Regions from separate parts of the Homo sapiens genome. Here region 1 is linked to region 2. The links are contacts of gene promoters, found by promoter capture Hi-C in blood cells and fetal thymus (Javierre and others, 2016). All regions are on one chromosome and are shown on one strand. Each heading gives the region's core, a stretch centred on a gene start or on the middle of the fragment in contact. The rest is flanking DNA. Distances are from core to core; before and after follow the strand shown. Region 1 overlaps MYO3B (myosin IIIB). Region 2 holds the start of LINC01124 (long intergenic non-protein coding RNA 1124).

Region 1 (5,708 bases), core at 441-2,940, 150 kb after region 2:
TTATTGTTATTTTTGGGTTTTGTCGGCTTTTGGGGTTATTTTTCTATATCATAATTCTTCTCTAAATTCTACCAAATTTCAGCCTTTGATGAAAGAAAAACTAGAGACAATGTAAAAACTCCAAAACAAAATATCTGAGATATCTGGAACTATCATTACTCTTTTAAAATCAGTGGTCTAAAACGTCAAAATAGGGTTAACATCTAAGTTTATACGGATATGAATGAGAACCAGGAAAAAACTGCTTTCAAAGAGAGCAATAACACTAATTTATGTTGTGCATAAATTATCTGAGCATGTAACAGTGGCTCAGAAAACATTACCACCACTTTGCAGAGAGCTAAAAGTAAAATGTGAAATATTATCCCAATCTTCATGTTCTAACTTTAGAATTCCACTAATAATTCTCCTTCTGTTTCTATTAAATATGAAAAATTGAGCAATGGCCAAGTAATTTTTTAAATCAAAAACAAATTAAGATGATGGAGCAATAAACACAGGATTCAATGTTTTTATTTTTTTCAAGAATTCTGAGGTTTTTTTTTAAAGGAATCAACTTTTTGTTGTTGTTGTTTAATGAAGAAGAAAAAGACTATAGCAACCTGCCTTGGCATTTTTGAGAAACCACAGGTCTATTCTTTTTATGTATTGCGTGTACATCTTCTAGCCCAAAGACTTTAATCATAGCACAAAATTTTCTTAAATAACTTTTGAGGGTCATCTGATGATTTATAGAGACATATCCCCCAAAGAGACATCTAACCAAAAAAGAGCAATCTACAAATACTTGAAGAACTACCACATGGGAAGAAAAATCCTTCGATCAAGCTTCCCAAACATAAAATTGATAGTCTTTACAATTAGTCAATTCCTCTCATTAGTACAAGAATTCTTAACCTGGGATACAGATCCTGATGGGAACATGAAGGTATTAAGGATTTTATGTGCAAAATGTTGCCGGTGTACATTTGTGCATTTTTCTAGAGTTAGGGTGCATGGATTCCATTAGCCTCCCACAGAGGCTTGTGATGTAAAAAGATGTGCAAAAGAATGTGGGAAATTAGCATGGATGACCATTTGTCAGACTGCTGAAGAAAAGATTGTCACTCTAAGGGCAATGTTTAGAATCCTCTGGGTACAGATAACTAGTAAGTAAAACCTTTATGCAGTATATGTTCAATCCTCTAATCATTCAGTGGTTATTCACAGGTTGTCCCTTCTGGTCATATGGGTTAATTTGCTCAGGGTGGTAGATGAGAGGGAGGCATCCATTCTAACTCTTCTTTTAAGGGGAGAGACAACATAATGGACTGTTTCCCAGTGCCCTCCCAGTGTTAAATAGAAACTGCTACATGACATGAATGGGGGTTCCATTAATGGACTGAATATGAGAATGTGGGTCTAGGGCAAAGAATAAGCAGCACACAAGAGAAGGGAGGTACCTTGCTTTCTTAATGGCAACCCAAGTTGAAAATCAGAAGGCAGAGTACAAGTGTGTTGTGAGCTGACTGCTCTGGACATGGGTAAATACAGCAGTGAAGGACAAAAAAGGAATGAACACTTTGTAATCTGACCCTCGGAGATTTAGAATGGATCCTTGGATGTTCTGTCCCCCGTCGGTACCCCCAGCATTCACCCAGGCTAATGAGTTAGCATGGAAACTGTGCTTTGGAGGACAAATCAGTTAAGAGCAGAAACAAATCTAGAGCTCTTTCCATTTATCTGATTTCTGCACAAATGCAGAGTTTGCCATTTACAGTGGGTGTGTATCCATTGGGAGAACCCAGCCATTGTGTCCTGGCATAAAAACGGCTCCTTTGAAATTAGGATAGTGTGTAAACTCATCCCCTAAGATCTTTGTAGATCTCTTGCAATTGTTTCTTGGACCCTGTTTGAATTTGCTCTTTTAAATGGGCTGCTTAGGGAAAATACTGGCACCAATTTAACAAAAAGGGATATCATTAATTTCTTCCTCTAAAAAGGAAGAATCCCTTTGGGAACACTGAGTCTTCACGTATATTAGGTCAGACAAACCAGCCTGGTGTCTGGGTAGACTGGCTGTTCTAATTGCTCACTGCTAAGCAGCCAAACAGACCTTTCTGGATGGTGACTTGGGGATCTGAGTCTGTGGGAGCTATAAATATTCCTGAAACCATTTAGGTGGATTAATGAAACAACTCCCTCCCATTACACAAACTGCCAGACACAGAAAATACCAACAAATTGGTCCCACTCAAATGCAGTAAAGATTCAAGGTGATATACTCTTGAGACTTGTGGTAGTATCGAGGGAAAACAAGTGTAGTTTTTTAGAAATTGTAGCGCACTCCAGAAGACTTGATAATTTGAGTGGAAAGAAGAAAGGAGTTGCTAAACTTGGAAATTAGGTACTTTCAAAAGTGATTCGCAATGGAAGAGTAAGAAATAGCAGTAGCAGCAGCTAAACTTTATTAGATGCTTACTATGTACCAGGCATTATTCTACATGTAGTAAGCTAATAATCTGGAGTCTTATTTTTGGATAAGTCCTGACCCAGAATCCCCTCAAAGCTTCCAGAGCATCACACACACACAGACAAACACACACACATTCTTAGGAACCCAGGAACACAGATCACAGAACAGGGAATTTTAGTGTAATAAAAACCTTAAATATCAGCAAAACACTGGAAAGAGGGGACAATGTGGGACCGGAGGAGTGAGTGTGGGGGTGATGGTGGTGGGCAGTGCTCAGGCAAAGCTCTAGTCTAGGATAGAGTGCATGATTTGAAAGTGGGAGGTCAGGAAGTCATTGTGAATTGTTCTTGGTAGGGAGAAAAATTACAGACTCATTTAATATCCAGTTTATGTTGAATTTCTCCCTCCCGTCATTATCCAAACTATATTTATAGTTTGTTTAATAAGAGATATATCTGTTCTTTTTAAAAAATTGCAAGTATTTTTAATCCAAATTCAACTGCAGTCCAAACTAAACAAAACACCTCTACCTAATGCCAATAATCCCCCAGGCATGGCTTTATGTGCCTTATTTTGCTCTCTGATCTTTTGGCCTAATTAGGATAGAGCCCTTGAAACCCTAAATTCTGACCAATGAATAAATAATCAAACAACTTGGATATAATGTAATAGACTTTACAGTCTACAGCCAAATATAGAGCTAACTGGTCAACCCCTTAAGGCTTCTATTTTCCCATTTATTTAAAGAACAAAGAGGAGAATACATTTAAGAAGCTAAAATGGCCATCCAATGAGCCCTTAAGAATAGCCTGTGCCAGAATGCTGATCCAGAGGTACTACTGACTCTATGTCTCCCTAAAGCCCAGCTCTGGGTTGGGTTCTAGCTCTGGGTTGGCCAACTAATATGCAGTCTTTTCATCTATAAAATGAGAGTTGAACAAAAGACCTTGAAAGCTTCTACAATCTTAAATCTGGATAGGTTAGGCCATATTAACTCTGTAGAAAACTTCCTCAAATAAAAATGAAATATTCCTATGAGTAACAAGAATAACTCCATGCAGCACCAAATTTTTGTTGAGTGCTTACTACATGTGAAGTAGTGTGTTAAGCACCTTACATCTATACCCTATGACGTAGGTACTGTTACTATTCCTATTTTGGAGATGAGGAAAGAGGGATATAGGGAGATTAAGTTAACTTGACCAAAGTCACAAAGCTATTAGAGTGGCATAGATGGGATGTAAATTTAAGTTTGACTGACTCCAAAGCCAGCTTTGCCACCCTGCCAAGGGTATGGGACCATCATCCATGAACATCTCTTCTTTGTAAGGGTTCCAAACTAGAAACAACCCAGATGCCCATCAACAGAAACATGAATGCATAAAGTGTGCTCTCATCCTAAAATGGGATACTATACAGTAACGAAAATATACAAGTGAATCTTTAAAATATAATGTTAAGGGAAAAAAGAGAAAAAGCTAGAAGTCAAAGAATATATGCTATGTGGTTCCAGCTGTGCAAAGTTTAAAAACAGGCAAAATTAAGCTATAATATTTAGAGACACATATTTAGGTGGTTACCTGTAGGATGCAGGAAGAGAGTCATAATCCTGAAAGGGCATGCTGATGGCTTCTGTGGCACTGGCAAGGACTGTTTTGTGATCTCGGTTGTGCTCACATGGTGCTTGCATTATAATAATTTATTATACTGTCCATTTTCGTTTTAAGCATTTTTTTTTTTTTGGAGACAGAGTCTCACTCTGTCTGTACCAGGCTGGAGTACAGTGGTACGATCTCAGCTCACCGCAAGCTCCGCCTCCCGGGTTCACACCATTCTCCTGCCTCAGCCTCCTGAGTAGCTGGGACCACAGGCGCCCGCCACCATGCTCGGCTAATTTTTTGTATTTGTAGTAGAGATGGGATTTCACCGTGTTAGCCAGGATGGTCTTGATCTCCTGACCTTGTGATCCGCCCGCCTTGGTCTCCCAAAGTGTTGGGATTACAGGCATGAGCCACGGTGTCTGGCCTCCGTTTTAAGAATTTTTTTTTTCTGTAAGCATGTTACATTTCAGAATTTTTTAAAAGGCAAAACCAAAAATAACCAAGGATGGGGGCTGGGGGTGCAAAACAAAATAAACAACCACCTTGATCTTGTATCTCTCACATGTGAGCTTCTCCCCGTGTGGAAAAAGAATGGGCAGACGGCTGGAAACATCTTTTCTGACTCTTCGCTGCAGGTCTGAGTTTTGGAGTAAGCTTATCTGAACCTTTCCTGGAGACCACATATCACCGTTGGAGCTCCCACAGCTCCTGTGCTCACCCCTATCAACACCCTAGTCAAAGCAGACTTGTTTTCAAATTTATTTGTCCATCTCTCTCAGAATATAAATTTCACAAGAGCAAGCCTGGCTCTTGCTCCCTGTATTATATCAAACATAGTGTCTGCCATTTAGTGGGTGCTCAAGTAACATCTGCTGGACAAATATCCTAATGAATGAGGAATAAAGGTATATTTTATTATCTCCCAGCCCTCTCTGAAATTTAAACCAACAAACTGATCTCTTGCTAAATACTGTTTTAGCAGACAACCTGAGTTTTTCTAGTTTTTCCAGGAGTTTTAGTAACTTAGCAAACATAAATAGCACTTTGGGAGGCAGAGGCGGGCGGATCACGAGGTCAGGAGATGGAGACCATCCTGGCTAACACAGTGAAACCCCATCTCTACTAAAAATACAAGAAATTAGCTGGGCATGGTGGTGGGCGCCTGTAGTCCCAGCAACTCCGGAAGCTGAGGCAGAAGAATGGCGTGAACCCAGGAGGCGGAGCTTGCAGTGAGCCGAGATCGTGCCACTGCACTCCAGCCTGGGCGACAGAGCGAGACTCCGTCTCAAAAAAAAATAAAAATAAAAATAAAAAACCCTGCAGACATACCCTTTGAACCTAAAAGAAAAGTTGGAAAGAAAAACAAAAAAAAACACGTATCTAACGTAGGACTGTATCCAAAATATACAAAGAACTCTTAAAACTCAAGAATAGGAAAACAAACAATGCAATTTTAAAATGGTCAAAAAATCTGAATAGATACCTCACCAAATAAGACGCACAGATGTCAAATAAGCATGTGAAAGAAATAAGCTGTGAAAAGATGCTTAATATCATGTTATCAGTGAATTGCAAATTAAAATAATGAGATGTGACTACACAACTATTAAAATGTCAAAATCTGGCCAGGTGCAGTGGCTCACGCCTGTAAT
Region 2 (6,132 bases), core at 1,653-4,152:
GCTGCCCACAGGTCCCCGGATCTCTCGCAGAGGTGCTGGGAAGGGGGTCCACCTCCGGGAGGGCTCACAGGTCCCGCGCGTCCTCCCGCTTAACCCCGGCCTCAGCGACTTTGAGCTTCTTATTCTGGTGAGTCTTGACGTGCTTCGCGAGGTGGTCGCTGCGCATGAAGCGCTTGCCGCACTCGGGACAGGCAAAGCGCTTCTCGCCCGTGTGAGTCCGCAGGTGCCGCTGCAGCTCGTCCGAGCGCGTGAAGCTCTTCCCGCAGAAGAGCCAGTTGCACACGAAGGGTCGCTCGCCCGTGTGCCAGCGCAGGTGCGCCTTCAGGTGCGACGTCTTCCCGTACACCTTGCCGCAGCCCGGCACGTGGCACACGTGCTGCTTCTTCTTCCCCGGCTCCGCCTCGGGGGCGCCGCCCGCCGCCTGGCAGTTGGGACAGCGGCAGCGGCGGCACCTCCTGGCCGTGGCCGCCAGGGGGGCCTTGGTCTGCAGCAGCGCGGCGATCTGGCTCTGGTACTGCGCAAAGTCCGACGGGCCCAACACCAGGCCTCTTTGTAGGGCGGCGGCGGCCGCAGCAGCAGCGGCCGCAGAGGCGGGGAAGCGGGGCGCGTGGGGGGCCCCGGCACAGGCGCCGGAGAGGCCGCTTCCCGGAACCCCGGAGGCCCCCGGCCCGGCGCCCGCCTGCGGGATGCTCCACCACGGGAGGTCGTCGGGGGCCGGGTTGGGTGACAACTGGCGGCAGGTGGGCGGCGGGGGCGGTGGCGGCGGCGGAGGCAGCAGGTTGGAGTAGCCTGGCGGCAGCGCGGCCTGCGCCGCGTAGGGCACGTAGGCGGGCGCGCAGCTGGCGGGCAGAGCCGCCATGCTCGAGGGCAGCATCTTGACCGGCGAGAACTCGTAGGGGTACGAGGGGTCGGCGGGGGGTGTAAGGGGAAGCTCGTGCGCAGCCCCGAAGGACGGCTGCAGGTGCGTCTTCTGCGGCGTCAGCCCCAAGCTGGGATGCGGGGGCGGCAGTGCGCCTGGCGAGTGCGCCGGCATGTCGGCGGTCCACGGGTGGAAGAGCCTGGAGGGTGAGCCCAGCGCGGGGTCGTAGGGCACCTGCAGGAAGTCCGGGGGCGCCGCCGCGCCCGGCTGGCCGATGCGGCTACAGGTGGCGGCCAGCAATGCCAGGGGCGAGTGCTTGCCCAGGTCCGGGGAGGCGCTGGGGGTGCGGTCCTGCATAGGCGGCGAGGGAGGGCGGAGAAGAGACAAAAGGTTAGCTCCAAGCGCGGACTCCGGGCCAGCCCGCCGCCCCCACGCCCGCTATTATACCGCCGCCCCTCCTCCGTCCCGGCCGTCCCTCCCCCGCCACCGCACCCCACGCACGCACCCACCGGCCGAGGGAAACTTTTGGTGCCTGCGCTACCTGAACGTGGGGCCCGCGAGCGCTTCTTGCTAAACTACTTGGTGCACTGAGACGCCATCCAGCCTTAGAGGAAGCAGGCGCGAAGTGGGAGGGGGAGGCATCCGACGGGCCCCTCCCGGCTCCGTGGTCAGTAAGAGTCGGGAAACACCCACAACCCCGCCGGCCGGCCGCTCTCCCTCCCATCTTTTAAGCTCTCTTGTCCTCACTGCCTTCGCGCTCCTCCCTGGCCCGCCCCAGGCTGAAATCAGCAGGAGGGCCCAGCAGGGTGAGCTCCGGTCCTGTTCTCGGCCAGCCGGGCACCTCCGAACAATCCCGGATCCACGCGTCCCTCCAGCAAAGGCCACACCGGATTAGGTGTGAAGTTGGCGTGGGCACCCCTAGGCCTGGCTCCAGCTGCACCCATCGGCGGGGTTCCCTTTGAGGTTCAAGGTGCACGGAGTACCAGGAGAGATCCGGACACGGCCCTTTCCACCTTTCTCCCGCCCCCTCCGGGCTCGGCCCTGACCTGGAGAAAGGCCTGCAGCGAGTCGTTCCGGAGGACGGCCACCGCGGCCATGGCTACGGCTTGCAGGCCCCTGGCTGCGGAGCGGGACGCCGCCGCCGAGGCATGGACACCCGAAGGCGAGGACGAAGGGCCGCCCAGCCTGCCTCCCTGGCGCCTGCTCTGAGCGCCGGGGCCCTCCCCGCCCTTGCCCCTCGCCGCGCCCCGCTCGCTCGCCCCGCGCGCGGTCTGAGCGCTTCAGGATCACCTCCAAGAATTTGATAAGGACTTTGCTGGGCCGCCAGCCAGTCAGAGGGAAGATTTATGGCTTTGAAGTTTGCCGCTACCCAATCATCAAAGAATAGCGGCTCTTTCAGAAGCGAAAGCAAATCCTTTGAATCCACAAAGCTCCTATGGTGTGTTTGTTGGTCTGGATAAAAGAACTGATTATTAGGGGGGATGGGAAGGGAGGAGATAAAGGCGGGACAATTAATGAAGTAATCACTATGTGGGAAATGTATATACACAAATAATTGGATTTTCCTGATCAAAGGGGGCCTTGCCGCCTGGAGACCCGCGCTTGGGTTGCTCGAGACACTCTTCCCGCCCCCCCCAACATACACACACACACACACACACACACTTGCAATTAAAGATTTGCACCGACGCAGCGCCCAAAGTGACAAAGTGTCTTTGTTATCTCTGGAAAAATCTGCCTTCGGCTTCCAGGCGCCGGACTTTGAGACGGCAAAGAGTGTAACTCTCCCCTGTATTTACTTGCACACCCTGCACCCTCGCCGCACACGCACCCGCCCGCGCACACAGCGGACCCAAGCGAGATCCCCGGTGGGGCGTGGGACCGACAGCGCCCGGCCCGCCGCGTGTCCCCCGCCCGCCGCGGTGGGGCCGAGGGCAGGGCTGTGACCTGGGGCGGGGCCGGGCGGCCGCCCAGCGCGGCGTTGGGTGGCGCGCACGCTCCAGGGCCGCCCGCCTGACGAGCGACCGGGGCTCTCCTGTGACGTTCCTGCTGGCGACCTGGAAGTTTTCCTCAGGCCACAACTTTTGCAGAGTGGACCTGGGAAAAACACCCGCGCCGCGCATACCCTCAAAGCTGAGCTCGGCAGGACACCCAAGGCGACCCGTCATGCCCACCCGAGGGGAAGAAGCTGTGCTGTCCCGCCCCCTTCTCCCCAGGCCACCCAGGAGGCCCGGGCTGGGCTGTGGGGGGCCGAAAGCCCCAGCGCTGCTGGTGATTTCTCGCCCGGAGCCCCGCCAAGCCAGCGCGCCCTCTCGCAAGCCTGGCAGACCAGGAGCTACTGGAAAAAAGGCGCGGTCGAGGAAGCCTGGTTGTTGTGGTCCCACAAACCACAAATCATACGAGAGAGGATCCCGAAGGCGGGAGAAAAGTCAGTACAGACTTGTTCCTGCCACCTTTGGAAAGAAAAAGTTCCTCACCAGGCGCGGGGCGTGCTTTGCTCTGGGCAGGGTCGCGCTTGCAGGGGCTTGGGTGACCCCCATCCCTCCCTGGCGGCTCACCTCCTGCCGAGGAGGGCCACCTGCCTCCTCCTGGCCCAGGGCGCAGGGCGCGTCCTGCCCCGGCACTGCGGACGCGGGGATCGCCTCTCCCGGGCGCGCGGGCGGGGAAGGAGGAAGAGGCGGGCGGGGAACCGCGGGGTGCTCACCGCCCTGGGGCATTAGGGGTGCGGAACCGCGTTGGAGGCCTCGCGGCCCCGGCTCGCGAGAGCGCACTGCGGAGTGGCCGCCGGAGCTCGGCCTACTCCTCTCCCCCACCCACCTCCCGTCGGACACAGTCTCCACTCTCCAGGCCGCCGGCCGTGGGGGAGCCCCTAATCAGTTCGCGCCCGGCCTCTCTGCCCGTCTTCCTCACGGGAACCGCACTGCGACCGGGACGGACGGGGTGACCTATCTCCCGATGCAGCGTCAGAGGTTAGCCTAACTACAACGGACTCGGAATCTGGACTGTATAAGGATGCCCTCCGCACTTCCATCAGGGGTCGGGGATGCGATGCCTCCGGGCCCACCTTCTCCCACGCCCAGGGCGCGCCTGCGGAATGAGAATATCGTACTCAAGACGGGTGGGCTGCTTGCGACCCAAATACAATGGGTCCCTCGCACATCCTGCACTCGCACGCCCCCTTCTCCCCCAACGAGTTGTCCCCTCTAAAACGCGAGCGGCGACCACACAACTTGGCCGACCCGATCTGGCTTCTGAAGATGAGGTCGGCTGCTCTGGGAGCGGAGAAGGGGAGAGAGCTTAGTGGTTTCATCCGAGGCCTGGCCAACCTGCTCCTTCCCACGCTCCCGTCCAGGATTTGAGTCTTGGAGAAGCGTGAGACTCGAGGGAGCTCTTCCCTGGATGCAAGTCGGAGGCCAGGGAGCCCCTTGGCACACACTCGCGCCTGCACATGCTTGCACCCTCGAAGCGATCTGGTTCCTTAGCGCTGGTTTCCTTTCCAGCTTCTTTGAGATCTTCGAAGTCCCCTTTCCCAGGGAGGCGGGCAGGGCCGGGCTAAGCAGGATGGAAGGCAGCCCTTTTTATTGAATCTGATAGCTACTTTCCCAAAAAGGCCAGAAAAGCCATTTCACATCCCCATAGTTATGGGAATTAGCTTTTTCTCCAAGATGCCCCCATTAGCCAGTTAAACCATCAGTGGGCCAACAGGGTCAAAGTTAGTGGCTTGGTGGTTGAAAGCTCGGAGTCCGAACTCTCTGAAGACATTTTTCCCGCCTTGCCACTTTCTAGTTGGTGACCTTGGCAAGCAAGGTACTCAGCCGCTGTGTACCTCAGTTTTGCGGTTTGTAAAATGGGAGTTACAATAGTGCACCCCTTGTAGAGTGGCTATAGGTTTAAGAGTTAATATACGCAAGGTCTTTAGGACGGTGCTGAGCGTACAGAAGGCCCTCTCTTGAGTGGTCGCAGTTGGCTGCTCTCGGCCTCATCTCCGTTTGTGAAAACCCGTCCAGATTCCGGTCCTCCCAGGCCCCAGCTGAAGTTTGGAGAGAGGCTTTGCTGAATAGCTGTTTAGTCTCCCCCAACCCCCTTGGCCCTCGGAGCTCCTGGAAAAAGTTCTTAATGAAGTAATGTTGAGAGCGTCCATTAAAAATGCAATGCTGGGAGATCAAAGTACAATATTTATTTTAGAAATTTGTTGTAATCACCAAGAGATACAGGTATCAAGGCCAAATGTCAGTTCCATTACACAAAGCCCCGCGCCCGGGAAGAGCGTGTGGCTGCTCTGCCATAATGTAAAGAGACATCAAAGACCGAGCGCGCTGCAAAAGTGCGCAGCTGTGGGGGAGAGAGTAAGCCCGGGAGGGCCAGGCGCGCCCCAGACAGCGCGGGGGCTGCGGGGGCGGGGGTCAGTTCAAAGAGGTATCCGTTGGGGCGCGAGTTCACAGGAGGGAAGATTTAATGGGCTTTCTTTTGTTGGTGGGTGTGTTTGCGCACGGTGGACCCAGGAACTCCTATGTGGTCCTCCTGCCTCGGGGCGGAGATGGGGGTGGGGTGGGAGCTGCGAATGTGGAGCAAACTTTAACCGTGGCGGGGGGCGGGGAGGTTGAATACCAGTCTCCTGGCGGCGGCTGGCACAGCGGAGCTGCTCTCCAAGCAGCGGGGTTCCCAGGCTGGGAAGTTTGCATTGCCGTTTCTTTGCGGGCGGGCGGCGAGCGCCGACTGCATGCCACCTGCGAGAGGAAGAGGCCGGTAGGTGAACCCGCAGTGACACTTGCGCAGGGGACGGACCAGCTCTGCGCGCTCTGGGATTAAGTCAGGGGTTGCTACTTCCAGCCCAAGCTTGGTACCTCGCCTCGGGCATTTTCTTGCAGCTAGAAGGGACGCATGCCTCTGGCATAAATCCAACCAGAGAGTCACCCCTCTCAAGCTAGATTTTTTAAAAATCTAGATATTATTTAGATCATTTCAGCAAATTCTTAATGCTTTGGCCTTTCACAGTAAGATGTTGCTTAATCGGCTGGATCTCCCCACTCCTTGCCAAGGAGACTCAATTTTGCAGTTGCCCATATCTGCCTAGTTAAATCGTTGCTATACTAAAGGTTCTGGGAGGGTGGGGACAGAATTTCCCCGGTGCTAATGCGGCACTGAATCGCAGGAGGCTGCCCATGCATTTCTTCAGTCATCTACAACCAAGAATTCTCAGAGCAGTCCCTCGGCAGCCTTTTGAAGCTGTGCTAGAGCAGAAAGCTGCTATTGTTCTCATCTCTCAACAAGGA

What was found. The method cuts DNA at HindIII sites, captures the fragments that hold promoters and counts their contacts. A CHiCAGO score of 5 or more calls a contact.
Region 1: a fragment that was not itself captured here is called in contact with the fragment with the promoter of LINC01124 in region 2 in 1 of 17 cell types (non-activated CD4 T cells); the score reaches 5.8 in non-activated CD4 T cells.

What each region holds. Positions count from the first base shown.
Region 1 is chr2:170,556,793-170,562,500 of GRCh38, reverse strand. The region is part of intron 32 of MYO3B (myosin IIIB); the gene reads right to left. Among named protein-coding and RNA genes, the nearest start is that of LINC01124, 150 kb to the left of the region's middle. The HindIII fragment of the contact is 1,720 bases long and covers 831-2,550 here.
Region 2 is chr2:170,711,337-170,717,468 of GRCh38, reverse strand. LINC01124 (long intergenic non-protein coding RNA 1124) reads left to right here and starts at 2,902. Exons shown (of 1, transcript NR_027433.1): 1 at 2,902-5,030. SP5 (Sp5 transcription factor) reads right to left here and starts at 2,132. Exons shown (of 2, transcript NM_001003845.3): 1 at 1,906-2,132; 2 at 1-1,210. The coding sequence starts at 1,956. The coding sequence ends at 65. All of the region lies in intron 5 of ERICH2-DT (ERICH2 divergent transcript), which reads left to right. LOC100130256 (a long non-coding RNA gene) reads left to right here and starts at 5,462. Exons shown (of 10, transcript NR_187629.1): 1 at 5,462-5,605. RefSeq lists enhancers at 181-970, 971-1,758, 1,759-2,548 and a silencer at 2,766-2,815. The HindIII fragment of the contact is 7,273 bases long and covers 1-5,697 here.